Linked DNA regions of Homo sapiens: regions 2 and 3 are each linked to region 1. The links are contacts of gene promoters, found by promoter capture Hi-C in blood cells and fetal thymus (Javierre and others, 2016). All regions are on one chromosome and are shown on one strand. The core of a region is centred on a gene start or on the middle of the fragment in contact, and the rest is flanking DNA. Distances in the headings are between cores, read along the strand shown.

The links. The method cuts DNA at HindIII sites, captures the fragments that hold promoters and counts their contacts. A CHiCAGO score of 5 or more calls a contact.
Region 2: a fragment that was not itself captured here is called in contact with the fragment with the promoter of ANKRD33B in region 1 in 5 of 17 cell types (neutrophils, total B cells, naive B cells and 2 more); the score reaches 20.7 in neutrophils.
Region 3: a contact is called between a fragment that was not itself captured here and the fragment with the promoter of ANKRD33B in region 1, in 2 of 17 cell types (neutrophils and total B cells). The highest score is 6.7, in neutrophils.

What each region holds. Positions count from the first base shown.
Region 1 is chr5:10,562,394-10,566,579 of GRCh38, forward strand. It overlaps ANKRD33B (ankyrin repeat domain 33B), which reads left to right and starts at 1,677. Exons shown (of 4, transcript NM_001164440.2): 1 at 1,677-2,440. The coding sequence starts at 2,075. RefSeq lists silencers at 1,261-2,120, 2,461-2,510, 3,481-3,530 and enhancers at 1,740-2,634, 2,635-3,528, 2,651-2,860, 3,181-3,230, 3,251-3,340 and 1 more. The HindIII fragment of the contact is 7,834 bases long and covers 1-4,186 here.
Region 2 is chr5:10,421,170-10,425,355 of GRCh38, forward strand. MARCHF6 (membrane associated ring-CH-type finger 6) reads left to right here. Exons shown (of 26, transcript NM_005885.4): 23 at 2,566-2,655. Among named protein-coding and RNA genes, the nearest start is that of ROPN1L-AS1, 19 kb to the right of the region's middle. RefSeq lists an enhancer at 1-862. The HindIII fragment of the contact is 1,717 bases long and covers 1,402-3,118 here.
Region 3 is chr5:10,701,254-10,705,439 of GRCh38, forward strand. All of the region lies in intron 2 of DAP (death associated protein), which reads right to left. Among named protein-coding and RNA genes, the nearest start is that of DAP-DT, 58 kb to the right of the region's middle. RefSeq lists an enhancer at 1,634-2,356. The HindIII fragment of the contact is 844 bases long and covers 1,367-2,210 here.

The DNA.
Region 1 (4,186 bases), core at 427-2,926:
GTGCTCCCCTCTCAGGGCCTGGCCCTGTCCACCTGGGCCTTGGTGACCCGCAGCCGGGACTCTTGCTGTAAAGTGACGCAGTGCTCTCCCTGGGAGGACAGTGGGTCCAGCAAACCCAACTCAGCCCTCAGGGGGCACTTGAAATTGTAACTACCCCAGGCCTTTGGAAACAACCCTCAACCTTGAAAGGGGAAATTCCCAGTGGGAATTGATGCAAACTGTGGTCAGTTACACAAAAAGGTAGAGTTTACTGTAATCTGGGGGCTATTTTTGGTTGCAGAAAGAATCCCCGGAGTAGAGAAGGAGGCCAGCGAGTCTCAGTTCGCTGCTCGCTCAGAGCCGCCCAGGTGCGAGGGCGTCTTCACCAGAAATCGGTGCTCCCGCGCGCCCCACCCTCCGGGGCCCTGCAGATGCCGGGTCGGGGGCCGCCAGCAGGCCCTTTGGCTCCTGCTGGAGACACTGGAAGACCAGGCGACCAGGACAGCGGGTCGGGCCAGTGCGGTGTGACACGAGGGCTCGAGCGGCTTCGCAGTTTAAACGTGTCCTCATCCTACACCTCCCACGGCTGTTTCGGATTCGGTGCCCTCGTGCCCCTCAGCTTGCCCAGCGGCACGTGGGCCTCAAGCCTGGTCCCCAGCGGCTGCGCCAGCCTAGCTGTGTTCACCTTGGGGCCGCGAGGGCCTCCCACCGGCTGGCAGCTGGTGGACACGCTGTCAAGATCGGGGGAAAAAAAGGAAGGAAGGAGGCTAGGGGGACACAGGGCTGGTGGCCTCCGCAGTCTTTGACCTGCGACGGGCGCGAGCGCACCTCCGCGCCTTTGCGCAGAGACCTTCCCCCAAGATTGGCTCACGACGCCTCCTACCCCGAAGTCAAGGGCTCCCTGTGGCAAATCCTCACACGCCCTCCTCCTCCCCGCCCATCCCCGGCGCCAGGACTGACGGGGAGAGGGCAAGGCCGGGCCAGAGGGGCTGTGGGCCTGGACTGCGGCTGTCGCCCGCGGCCCTGCTCTTTTGGGCAGCCAGACGTGGGGTCAGCGCCCAGTCGCAGCCTCCGGGGGTGAGTCCGCAGATCCCCGCACGTGACACAGGCCAGGCATGGGGACGGGGAGTTCCTCGTCGTCCGTTCCCACTCAGATGCTCCCTGAGGTTCCGGAACACCCCGCCCCCCATCCCAGGATCTGACCAACCCTCAAGCCACGGCCGGCCCCGGTTCCGCGAGACGGGGGACTCTGAGGATTGTCCTCCCTTCCGGGCTGGGACTCCCCCACAGCAGCCGACCGCCCCCAGTTCAGAGTGGCCCGGCCCGCAGCGCTCCCCGGGCACAGGTCCCAGGTGGACGGCTCCGCTCCCGCGCCCGGCTCCTCTGCCCGCCAAGCGCCCCGGGGATTCCCCGGCCTCCAAGCGGCCGCGGCCGGGTGGAGTCAGCCCCGAAGCCCGGGATCCCCCGAAGGGAGAAAACCCGCTCTGCTCCTCTGAAGCGGCGGGAGAAACCGGCCCCACCCAGGTCCGGGGGCCCGACGCCCTCGGCGGAGGCCGGCTCCAGGGGTCCGAGGTTCCCGAAGCTGGAGGCCGGCTCCGCCCCGGCGTCCCCCCGCCGCCACCTCCGCCCCCATCCCGCGGGCCGGCGGAGGGAGGGGCGGGGCCGCTTGCCGCCCGCGACTCGGGTTCGGCTTCTTTAGTGATTGCTTCTGCTTCTCCCGCGCCAGCTGTCCCCAGCTCTGGGGCAACGCTGCCAGGTGCCCAGTCCCCGCGCTCGAGAGAGCGCCTGCCTGGCTCTGAACTCTGGCCAGGAAGGGGCGCGAGGGGAAGGCCCCGGGGGAAGGCGTGTCCCCGCGCCCCGCCCCGCCCCGCCTCGGAAAGCCCCCGCGGTCCCGCCCACCCCAGGGGCTCGCTCAGCCTCCGGAGACTTTTTTCTTTGAGCGCAGCCGCCTGGTGCCGGTTTCCGCCGAGCTGGAGCGCGCGGGCCACGGCTTCTCTGGGGACGCAGAAGCGAGAAGCGGGGACCTCGGCGCGCGCCCCGCGTCCCGCTCTTCCTGCCCGCGCCCCGGCCCCCGGCCCGCGCCCCGGCCGCCGGCATGGTGCTGCTGGCCGGGACCGGGCCGGAGGGCGGCGGGGCGCGCTGCATGACCCCACCACCGCCGTCCCCACCCCGGGGCGCGCAGGTCGAGGAGGACCCCGCTGACTACGAAGAGTTTGAGGACTTCTCGAGTCTGCCAGACACCCGCAGCATCGCCTCGGACGACTCTTTCTACCCTTTCGAGGACGAGGAGGAGCACGGCGTCGAGAGCGCGGAGAGCGTCCCGGAGGGCGTCCCGGAAAGCGTCCCGGAGACGGCGACCCTCCTGCGCGCCGCCTGCGCCAACAACGTGGGGCTGCTGCGGACGCTGGTGCGGCGCGGGGTGAGCGTCGAGGAGGCGCAGGAGACTGACCGCAACGGCAGGGTAAGCGGGCGTCCCCGCAGGATTTGAGCCCCCTCACTGCCCCCACTCCCCTCCTCCCCACCACATCCCCGCGCCTCCCAGCTCCTGGCTCCGGACCGGTCCCTCGGTCACTCAGCCGCCGCCCAGAGCGCCTTTTCCCCGCTGTTTGGGAGCGCGGTGCCCTGGGTGGCTTCCCCGTCTCAGGCTGGGGGACGCGGTGCGGGGAGGGAGCAGTCGAGGTGTCAGCGCGGCAGAAACGCCAGTCCGGCGTCCTCACCGCATCCCCTTCTCGTTTACCGGTCCCCGTGGACCTCCTGACTGAATTCGCGCTGGCTGCCCGTGCTGCAATCCAGGATGGGCTTCTTGCGGCCCGGTCCCCTCCTGACTATTACCTTTCCCCAGGTCCCTGGCAGGGGACCATTCCTCCTCCCCTGCAGGAGACAGCCCCTCCTGCCCAGCGCCCCATTTGGCCCCTGGGCCCCTCGCGCCGCCCTTGTCCTAACACGCTGGGGCGCAGATCGGCTCCTCCAGCCGCAATGATTTGGAAGCAACAGTTTCTTCCCTCGCCGGGACAGCTTGGTCCCCTACCCCACCTCCGCTGAGCTTTGTGGCCCGCGCCGCGACCAGCCAACGTGATCTCTGACTGGTCTGTCCGCAGGTCACCTTCGCGAGCCAATGCCAGCCGGGGCTCCCCAGAGTCAGGGCATAGGGAGAGCCCCAGAGCCGCGGGCATCCACCCGGGTAGGGCAGGAGGCGTGGAGGCAGGCACAGGCTATCCTTTCGTTATGACCAGATTCAGAGAAAACGAGATGTTTAGAAAAGAAAAGAAAAGAAAGGAAAAGAAAAAAAGTTGGCTTAAGAAGACCTGAGAAGGACTGGCTGGTGGAACACCTTCCACCAAGCAAAGCACTTCAAGGGAAAACTGCAGAGTGACCACGGTGGCCAAGTTCCCCGTAGTCTGTGCTCAGTGGGCAAATGGCAGCGTTCTCACCTGATTTTTGTATTGTCCAAGGACCGTGGTATCTGCAGATGCAGCCTAGCACAAATGCACATGCTTTTTGCTCAGGAGCCTGCAGCTGACAGAAAACATGTGCTTTGACTTGGGGACCCGGGTGACCTTGTGCCTTTGGTTTATCCTGCAGTGGGTGGGGCAAGTGGTTTGCCCTGACTGTGGTTTGGGCTGGGCTTAGGTGGATGGGAAGCCCTCCAATGTCACTCTCCCCTTGTACTACATTGCCCCCGTGATTCAATTACCTCCCACCGTGTCCCTCCCACAACACGTGGGAATTCAAGATGAGATTTGGGTGGGGACACAGCCAAACCATATCACACAACATTTGAACTTGGAGGAAGGGTCTGTGCTTGTCATATGTTAGGCAGTGAGACCTGAGGTGGCGTCCCCGTAGGTAGCATCACCTGGAGCCCTGTAGTTCCTGCTGCCATTCCTCTTGCAATGCCTCCTCCCCCAGCCCTGGCGACAGATGCCCTGGCTGGCATGTGATTAGGGCTTGGAGCTCCACCCGAAGTCCTAGGGCCTGTTTCTCAAGTTCTACATTTGGTTTAACTGAGTTTTCAGGCCCAGATGTGTGTAATCAGAAACCTTGCTTTCTGGAAGCCAGTATGGGGGCCCGCTTTAAAGGAAGCCTCACCAAGCTCATAAAGGAACAGGTGGGGTGGGCCTCTCCCCCTGTCCTGGGCAGCCTGGTGGTCTCCAGTGGGCTGGAATGGGCACAGGAGGGGCCTGGCTCGCCCAGTCCCCACTCTAGG
Region 2 (4,186 bases), core at 1,010-3,509, 140 kb before region 1:
TATTATGACTCAGCAGTTTGGCTTTTCAGAATCTACTGTGAGGCATGAGCAAGGCTGTTTCTGCAAATACATCATTTTTTATAGCAAAAAATGAGAAGTGATCTAGATGTCCACCAATAGAGAATGCCCAAATAAAATGTGGAATATCAATGCAGCAATTGAAAAAATGAAGTAGAGATATTTGTTTTGATATCGATAGCTCCCAGACGTGTTTCTGAGTTGGGGGAAAGCACAAGCTGTAGACAGATAATGTGCAGCGTGCTATCCTTAATGTTTTGCATTAAACCCCCAAGTTTTTGAAGGAACAGTTTGCTTTTTCTTAATTCATGACTTTAAGCTACTTGCCTTTCCTGCAGCAAGTGGCTGCAGCTCCGTGGGATAGTGGGCCAGTTGGAATTCTAGCAGAGCAGCTAGTGTGGTGTGTCCTGTCTGGCAGGAGAGGACTGCAAAGCAGTGGGTTTTTGGAGAACGCGAATCACAGTGATCTTGGACCTCCTTGGGTAAACATTAATCTCATTTGGGTGTCTGCTGGACTCCCAGAAGGCCAAGAGAAAGCTGAATTGGTGGGTTGTTGCATCTTCCCTGCCTGTGAGAAAAAGCAGGGAGGCTTTCTTCATGTTCCTCAGTAGGAGACTGTTGGAGGGCTATCCCAAAGGTCTGAAGACGTAAAAGATCCTTTTGAAGCCCTTTAGGATATTCTCAGCCAGGCCCAAGCCTCCTTGAGGCTGCAGAGGAAATTATAACAAGTGCTTTATATGCAGGAGGCTTAGCAGCCGCAGAAAGGAAGTTAAGGCAGAGCAGTCAGAACACATGCCAGTTTGACAGCACTGCTTGCAGAGCCATGAGCTTCCAGAGAGAAGAGGAAATACACGGACGCCGAGTGCAGTATGTTCACACGCACATACAAACAGCAGCTCTAAAGCAGAACGCAGTTGTTGTGGAGCTGTATGACATAGATTTCAGACAAATCTAGTAGTGAAAAAAGATGTGGACAGTCACCACTGGGCTTGGCTTGGAGGCTTGGAAGATGAATGCAAAGCACTGGGCAAAACGGAAGAGGAAATTGAGAAAGAGAAATGTTTTGGAGGAAACATCTAGGAGACTTAGCGTACTGATAACGGGGGTTCCAGAAGGAACAAATGTGAGGCAGCATTGATACAAAAACAGGAGAAAATTTAACTGAATTGAAGAAAGATCTGATTCTGTAGTTTGAAGGGGCTCATGAGATTTGGTAAGATTGAGATCCAAGATAAAAACACGTAATTGGGTATATCTTATTAGACACGGGGAAATCAAAACAAGCTTCAAAAAACTGCATTGTCATTGGACTTTTTTTCTGTAGCACTGAAAACCATAAGATCAGAGAATTTATAGACGACTGGGTAAAAGGGACAAAAGCCAAGCTTCCTCTACCCAGACAAAAAATCATTTAGCTGTTCACCTATCAGGGTGAAGATTGATATTTGAGGGTATTCAAGAATTCAGTGTATGTATCAACCTCTCACCCCATTTGAAGAAGATCCTTAGAATAACCAATCAAACCAGTAAAGAAATGGGAACATTGGCCTCAAGATGGTAGACAGTGAAGAGGAGAATTAACAATCTGAGCAAAGTCCATATGAAAATGATACTACATACTTTCTATGGGATATAGATGTATAGATGCAGCTGAATGCATGGGGAAAAACATGGATGGTATGTACCAAAAGCTAATAGTGGTTATTGCTGGGGAGGGATCAGGATTTAAGGTAGTGATCACAGAGGACTCCCGTCTTTTCTGTAAAGATTTTGGTTTTATGTAAGAATCAGTCTAAATGTTACATGTGGTTTCTTTTTTTTTTTTTAATACCGTTTTTTGTTGTTGTTGTTTTAAATAAGCTAGATAGAGACCAGGTTATAAAGGGTTTTGTGTGCCTTGCTAAGGACTTCAGGGTTGTTAAGCAGGGAAGTTACGTTCATGATCTGATTTGCATTTAAAGAGATACTTGGTGGTGGTGGGGAAGGGGGCTGTGGGGAGGGAGGAAGTAGTCATCACTCTGTCTGGTGGAGAGCTGGAGGGTGGGCAGGCCAAGAGTCCGTTGCACCATGAGGAGGAACCTAGTAACAGTTCCCCAGTAGAACCACAAATGCTTCAAGCTAGAAGCTATCTGTGAGCCTTTAGAATGGTTTCTTAGGCCAAACTTTGCTCCACAGTCTTAATTTGACATAAATCAGCTCACTTGAAACCAATGAAATAGCCTAAAGATAGTTTGAAATAAAATCTTGGCATTTATTTTATTTGCTTTTTGAGATATCCATTAATGACCAGACTTTCTCTAACTCTTGGGAAAACAATATAGATTTTTAAAAGATAGAAGAACAATTTTTGATGGAAACATTGAATTTGAGCTGTTGAAGAAAAAAAATTCTCTGGGTTTTCAGTACGTTAGTCTTTTGTAAAATTGTTGCCAATCCTATAGAACTTCTATTTTGATGTGAAATAATGTAAGAAAATTATACAGCCTCTCTGCTGTGTTTATTGTTAAAAAACAACAGAAATATGTTAAATGGTTTTTAATTCCCTAGGACTGGGCACTTGGAGTCCTGCATGCCAAAATCATTGCAGCTATAACATTGATGGGTCCTCAGTGGTGGTTGAAAACTGTAATTGAACAGGTAAGCAAAATCAGTTTTCAGAGAAAGACATTCTGGAATTGGTTGTGTTTATGTTTGGCAGCTATAACTCTTATTTCTTATCTTCCTACCTTGCTGAGTTTTCTACATTTTTTTTGATGGGCATATATAACCTTTTTTTTTTTTTTTAAAGACAGCAGTTTAGTTTTACCACTGTAGGGGAGGAAAATAATTTGTTCTCAACCCTTGTTTTTTTTAGTTAAAATGGAACCCTTTAATAAAAGACAACAGAAAAACAAAAGTTTATTAAAGTACATATTTCATATATACATGGAGATACCCAGGGAATGAGTAATTTCAAAGAGGTGGCTTTGAATTCCAACGAATCTTCAACAAAGAATAATAAATTTTTAGAGAAGTGACAAGATGAAGGAAAAGGACTTTGAGTCTCTAGGGGTGGCAAGTGAGGGGAAGCAAAAAATTGGCAGATGCGGCTCCTTAGTAAAGCTTGGCAGTGTTGATTCCTCTGGTGCCATCTAGAGGCCCAGAAAGGCCCAAAGCTCTCTTCAGTGGGTAATCTTTGTCCTTCATGGTGTAGGGAAGTGGGGTGGGCTACCTTTTGTCTTTATACATTTATATTCTGCTTCTAGGCAATAGAGGGAGGACGGAAAGTTTTCCTGCATCTATTCTTTCTCAGTTGCATTCAACTCAAAACAATCCTTATGCCTAAGAGGCATATTTTTAGGGTGGCATATTGTGGTTTTCTATACTCCCATGAATTTTCATCAACCACGTTTAAGCCATCCTTTATCTGAAGGTTAACCAGTAGCTTACGGTATCTAGAACCCTGTTCATAGTGGAGACAAAAATGAAAATACGTGCTTTTTTTCTGGTGAAGGTTGATATTAATGTTTCTAAGCCTGTAGTAGATTTGGAGTGGGGGAAAGGTTATTGCTCGAGGTAATAAAAGAAGACAGAGGAAAAAACATTACAAAAGGAGAGCTGTTTTGGCTTCATCTAGCTACATAGTACCTAAGACTATTATTGTATTACAGAACTGCCAGATAATTTGATTGTTGTGGGAATACCTTGGAAAAGGTAGACTGTGCTTTAGCACTCCGATAATAAGACTAGAAAGTATGGTAATTCATTTAAGGAAAATTTCTATCCAAAATGGCCAACATAACAGATTTTGCTGCTACTTTACGCTTTAGCTATATGGCAAATGTACTTGTGGGGACCCCTCTTATCCTTAGGCCAGTGCCACATAAGTAAGACATAACAGTTCTGCAGCAGTAAAGTACACCTCTTTTTGCTGTATGAGAAGTAAAGACAGTAGTTAGCCAAGCATGCTCAAGAAAATCTGTTCAAAAAGTGCCTGTATTTCAAGATTTTGATTCTTAGGAGTAGGGGGGTTAGGGAGCCAGCAAATTGCAGTGTGTTTGTGTGTGTCTCTAAAGTATGGGCTAATTCTGAAGTCCACCAGGAGTGTGATGGATTGGGGGCTTCTGGCTTCATATCCCTTCAGGATCAGAGTGCAGGCCAGTACACTCTAGAATGGCCAGGTTAGCCT
Region 3 (4,186 bases), core at 539-3,038, 140 kb after region 1:
AGGCAGGTGAAGATGGAACAGGAGCACTAACTCACAACACCGATTTAAAAGAAGTCAGCTGTATCATGGAGAACGCAAGTCAAAGAGGAGTTCTTTTCAAGCTCAAGATGCAATCTGCTGCTTTTCCTCAGCATTTGCCTCAATAAGGAACCAATTTGAATATTTTTAAACCCAGCATCTTTATGGTTCAGTAACGGGGCTGAGAGCCCTAAAATGGTTTTCAAGGATGTAAGTACAAACATACTGTGCATTGTAGTTTCCAATAATGATTGCAATGTCAGATGACATTGTATTTGTCTTCTATCAGTTTCTTAAAATAAATAAATAAATAAAAAGGTTGAGGGGGACGGGGGGCGGGGGGGCAGTGGGTGGTGCAACCAATCCCCTGCCATCTCGTCTCTGACCAGTAGAGGGAGAATGAACTTCATTCAGGGCAGCAAATTAGGCCTCAAGTTATCCCTAGGATGATGGTTATGTCCCTGATTCCCTGGGACGGTCTGGGTTCAGGCATTGGTCCTGGTGTTATTACTAGCAGTGCTTTCTTTCACTCTCAAAGCATGTCAGACTAAATATGCTGCATGGTCACTCCAAGCTGAGACACAGAATTCTGGTATGATCCTCAACTTTTCCGGGACACTTAAGTTTCATTTTTCATGGAAGAAATGCTCGGATTGCCTGTGCTTGGTTCCACCTTGATACTTGAGCCAGCTGATAAACAGCAACTTCAAGGCTGGCTCATGTTCTCTTTCCATCACTTTCCTTCCCCTCCAAGGGCAGGACTTATACTTTCCCAGCTGTGTTGCCATAAGAACTTCCCAACATGGCTTTAGGCTTATCACAACACAGCTTTAGGCTTCTGCACGCATGGCTCCCCTTCAAGGTCAAGGACCATGGTGGAATTTGTTGTGTGCCCAGCGCCTGGCACATGGTCTGGTGCGCACACATACTCAACAAATGCTTTGAGCACCAAATGACATCACCGGTCAGCGACCCTCAGCTTAGCACAAGTTTGTGGTCGTGGCCAGGCAGTGAATGAACCAGGGTGCTTAGCTGGAACTGTTTGTTGCTCATTTCTTAGGAATGAGTAACTCTCATGCCCTGCCCGCCTCAAAGGCTTGCAAAAGAGGCAAAAGAGCGATTAGAGATAGTGGATTTATTTTTGTGACCCGACAATCTGGCTGAGCTGGATCTGCTGGCCATGGGTTGATATCTGGAGTCCCCAAGCAAATGGGCCCTTCCTCCAGCTTTTGCCAGACTGACCTGGAAGATTGGCTTTTCTCCCTCTTTAGAGGGAGCTCAGGCTAACAGGTACTTCTTCAGATCTTTTCAAGGCAAACTTGAGAATGGTGATAGAGCCATGAGCTGAAGCTTAAATGATAAGCACAATTAGCTAGAGGCGGTAAGGAAAAGAGGGATGGGGTGTTATCAATGACCACATTCACGAGCCTGAATTAACGAATTCAACAGGAAAAACTCCATCTACCTTCTTTATGGCAACTCCTGGCAGCTGCCAACAACAGCTGGATGGCTTTGCAGGACTCTTGCCTAAACCAGAGAAAGACTAAGCATCAAAGGTAGCTCATCTTGTTAAGAAAGCATGTCTTTTTAATAAAGTGCGATGTCACTCATGACCAAAAAAACCCTTGCAAAAGGGACAGTAACATGCAGACAGATGTGCACCCTTACCCTGAGCATAAACGATCTGGCATGCCTTGCCTCCTCAGCCAGAGTCTCAAATGCCTGAAGAATCTGGGTCTTAAGTTTTCAACTTTCGTCTCCTTACCTAAGGCTACTCCACAATTTCTGGGTTTAGTCATCTGCAAGTGAATGCTGGGAAACAGCCTGTTTCTGTTGATTCCCCTTATCACCAAGCACCTAGGAGCAGGGCTCTGTGAGGAATGACTCACTCTGGGCAGTAGGACACATCTTACAAAGCAGGGGTGCTCCCAAAATAGGGAGCTTACTTGTTGGGACACAGTAAGATGTTTTTCCCTTTAGAAACAATATGAATGATGCTTAGGTTCCTAAACTGTCTCAGAAGACACGTAATCCAAGTGTAGGCTGTGAAATGCTAGTGTGCTGAGTTGGGGCTGAGAGCTGGGCCTGGCTGGCTGTGGGCTTCTACAGAGTAGTTGCAGCCCTGTGCACAGGCAGGGGGGGTGTCACCGACTCGCATGTGGGCAGGTCTTTGCTGCGCATCAGGTGCTTTAAGCTTCGGAACAACTGTGCAGGATTCTATTTTAGTATTCTGGAAGCATCATTGAGGAAGTAGTCCAGTGAAGTTAGCTCTAAAAAAACTCTTTACTCTAACAATTAAAAGAAATATGCCAAAGGATCCATAAGGGATGAATAAATTATTAAACTATTAAGAAGTTGCTATAAATATGCAGTGTTAATTCAATAATTCATAACGGACTGGTACAACAAGATTTTTTAAGGCTCATAAAATACTGCTGGCTTTGGCAGTAGCTAGTGTCCTGGGGCTCATGCCAATTGCTTCTTTACACAGCAGCCTGGGTGTGGGGGGCACAGGGAGCCTTCCCCTGGCTGGCTGCCCAAGGACTCCAGGTAGAGGACAGCGCAGGGCGTGGCTGTGGGGATGTGCCTTCACTGCCTCTCCAGCCTTGCTGGGGGCCAGGCACTGGCTTGTCTCTATGGCTTCACAAAAAATACAGCAGCGGTGAAGAGGGGGAGAATTCACAGCACCATGCTGTGGCAGAAAGCAGCATCCCGAGGGCTGGGCAACCTCTTGCCTGAACCTGGGAACAGGGCGTCCTGCCTGTCAAATACCAGCCAGCCTGGTGACCTTCATCTCCACAGGTGCCTTTGTACCCCAGAGTTTCCTTTATAGTCCCTGATCTCTTTTACCTGGAGCCCTTGGGGCTACATAGGTTTCAGAATTCAGGATTTTTCAAGTTTTATAAAGGCAATATGTTATAAAAATCATATATAGTGAACAGTTCTGGAGGGGCTTGGGCAGCACCCCATATTCAAACCCATTAATTTTTCTACAGCAAAATGTATGGATATTACACTAAGTAGGATTTAGGGACCATAAATATCCTCACATCAGCTCAATTTTTGCCACCATGAGTTTCAGTGTGAAAACATAAAGCCCTCTGCAGTTTTCTGAGTGCTCTGGAATGTGTATTTGCCTTGGAGACATGGGCACTTTCCGCTCACCACTTCCTATGTGTCTCTGTGCTGTCGCCCAGTCTGCTGCCAAGAAAGGGAAATGGATTAGAAACAGGTAAGACGGTAAAACTGTCAGGAGGTAAAAAGATTACTCCTGGATTACATGGAGATGCCATGGTCAGCTCTATACACTTATCTGTATAGAGTAAAATTGGATTCATTCAATTAAGTGAAACCCTTGGCAAAGCAGAATAGAACAAATGTAATCAGGGAATTTTCCCCAAATTGTATCTTGGTCTTTTCTGGGTTAATAGAACTGAGCACCAACACCTGTCTTCTGTTTGTGTGGCCTTTCACTGATTCTAGAGCCCGTTGCCTGTGATCCCTCAGTCTTTCCTGCGCAGTGTACAGGGCCAGGAGCCCACAAGCATCACTGACCTCCTTTTCATACAGGTGAGAAAGCAGCTTAGAGGTAGACAGTCCCTGTGGTCGAGGGAATGGGAGGAAGTGGAGCCAGGACAAGCACGTGGGTCCTCAAACTTTCTGGCTAGCTCTGGTCTTCCTACACCTGTCGGATGCACAACCTCAGAATTGTGGCCCAAAATACATTCTGCCTGGCTCTCATCCTGCAATGCAATTTGAGTAGCCTGTGGTCAACTAAATTCTGGAAACACTACTTCCTGTATCCTCCTCTGAGAGACTGAAATGCCCCTTAGTGTAATGGGGCTCTGAGTCATCTTAAGGAAACCAGATTAACTTCCTTTCACCCATTTCCTGATGCGTTTGAATCAGGAAGCCTTTTGGGCAGAACTTCCATTAGCATCAGCCCACCGCGGCCCACACTACACACGGTCGTGACACATGTATTAAAGGCTGAGTTGCAATTGTGTTCCATATTTTATGTAGAGGTGAAGGTGGTTTACACATTTTGGAAAGAGTTTTACCTCGGAGGCTAAATAGGGGTCACAGTGATCTAGTGGGAGGCCCAGGCTAGGGAATCCATTTCTCCATCCTCCTTTTCTCCACCACTGGGTCACGTGCTGTTTGGTCA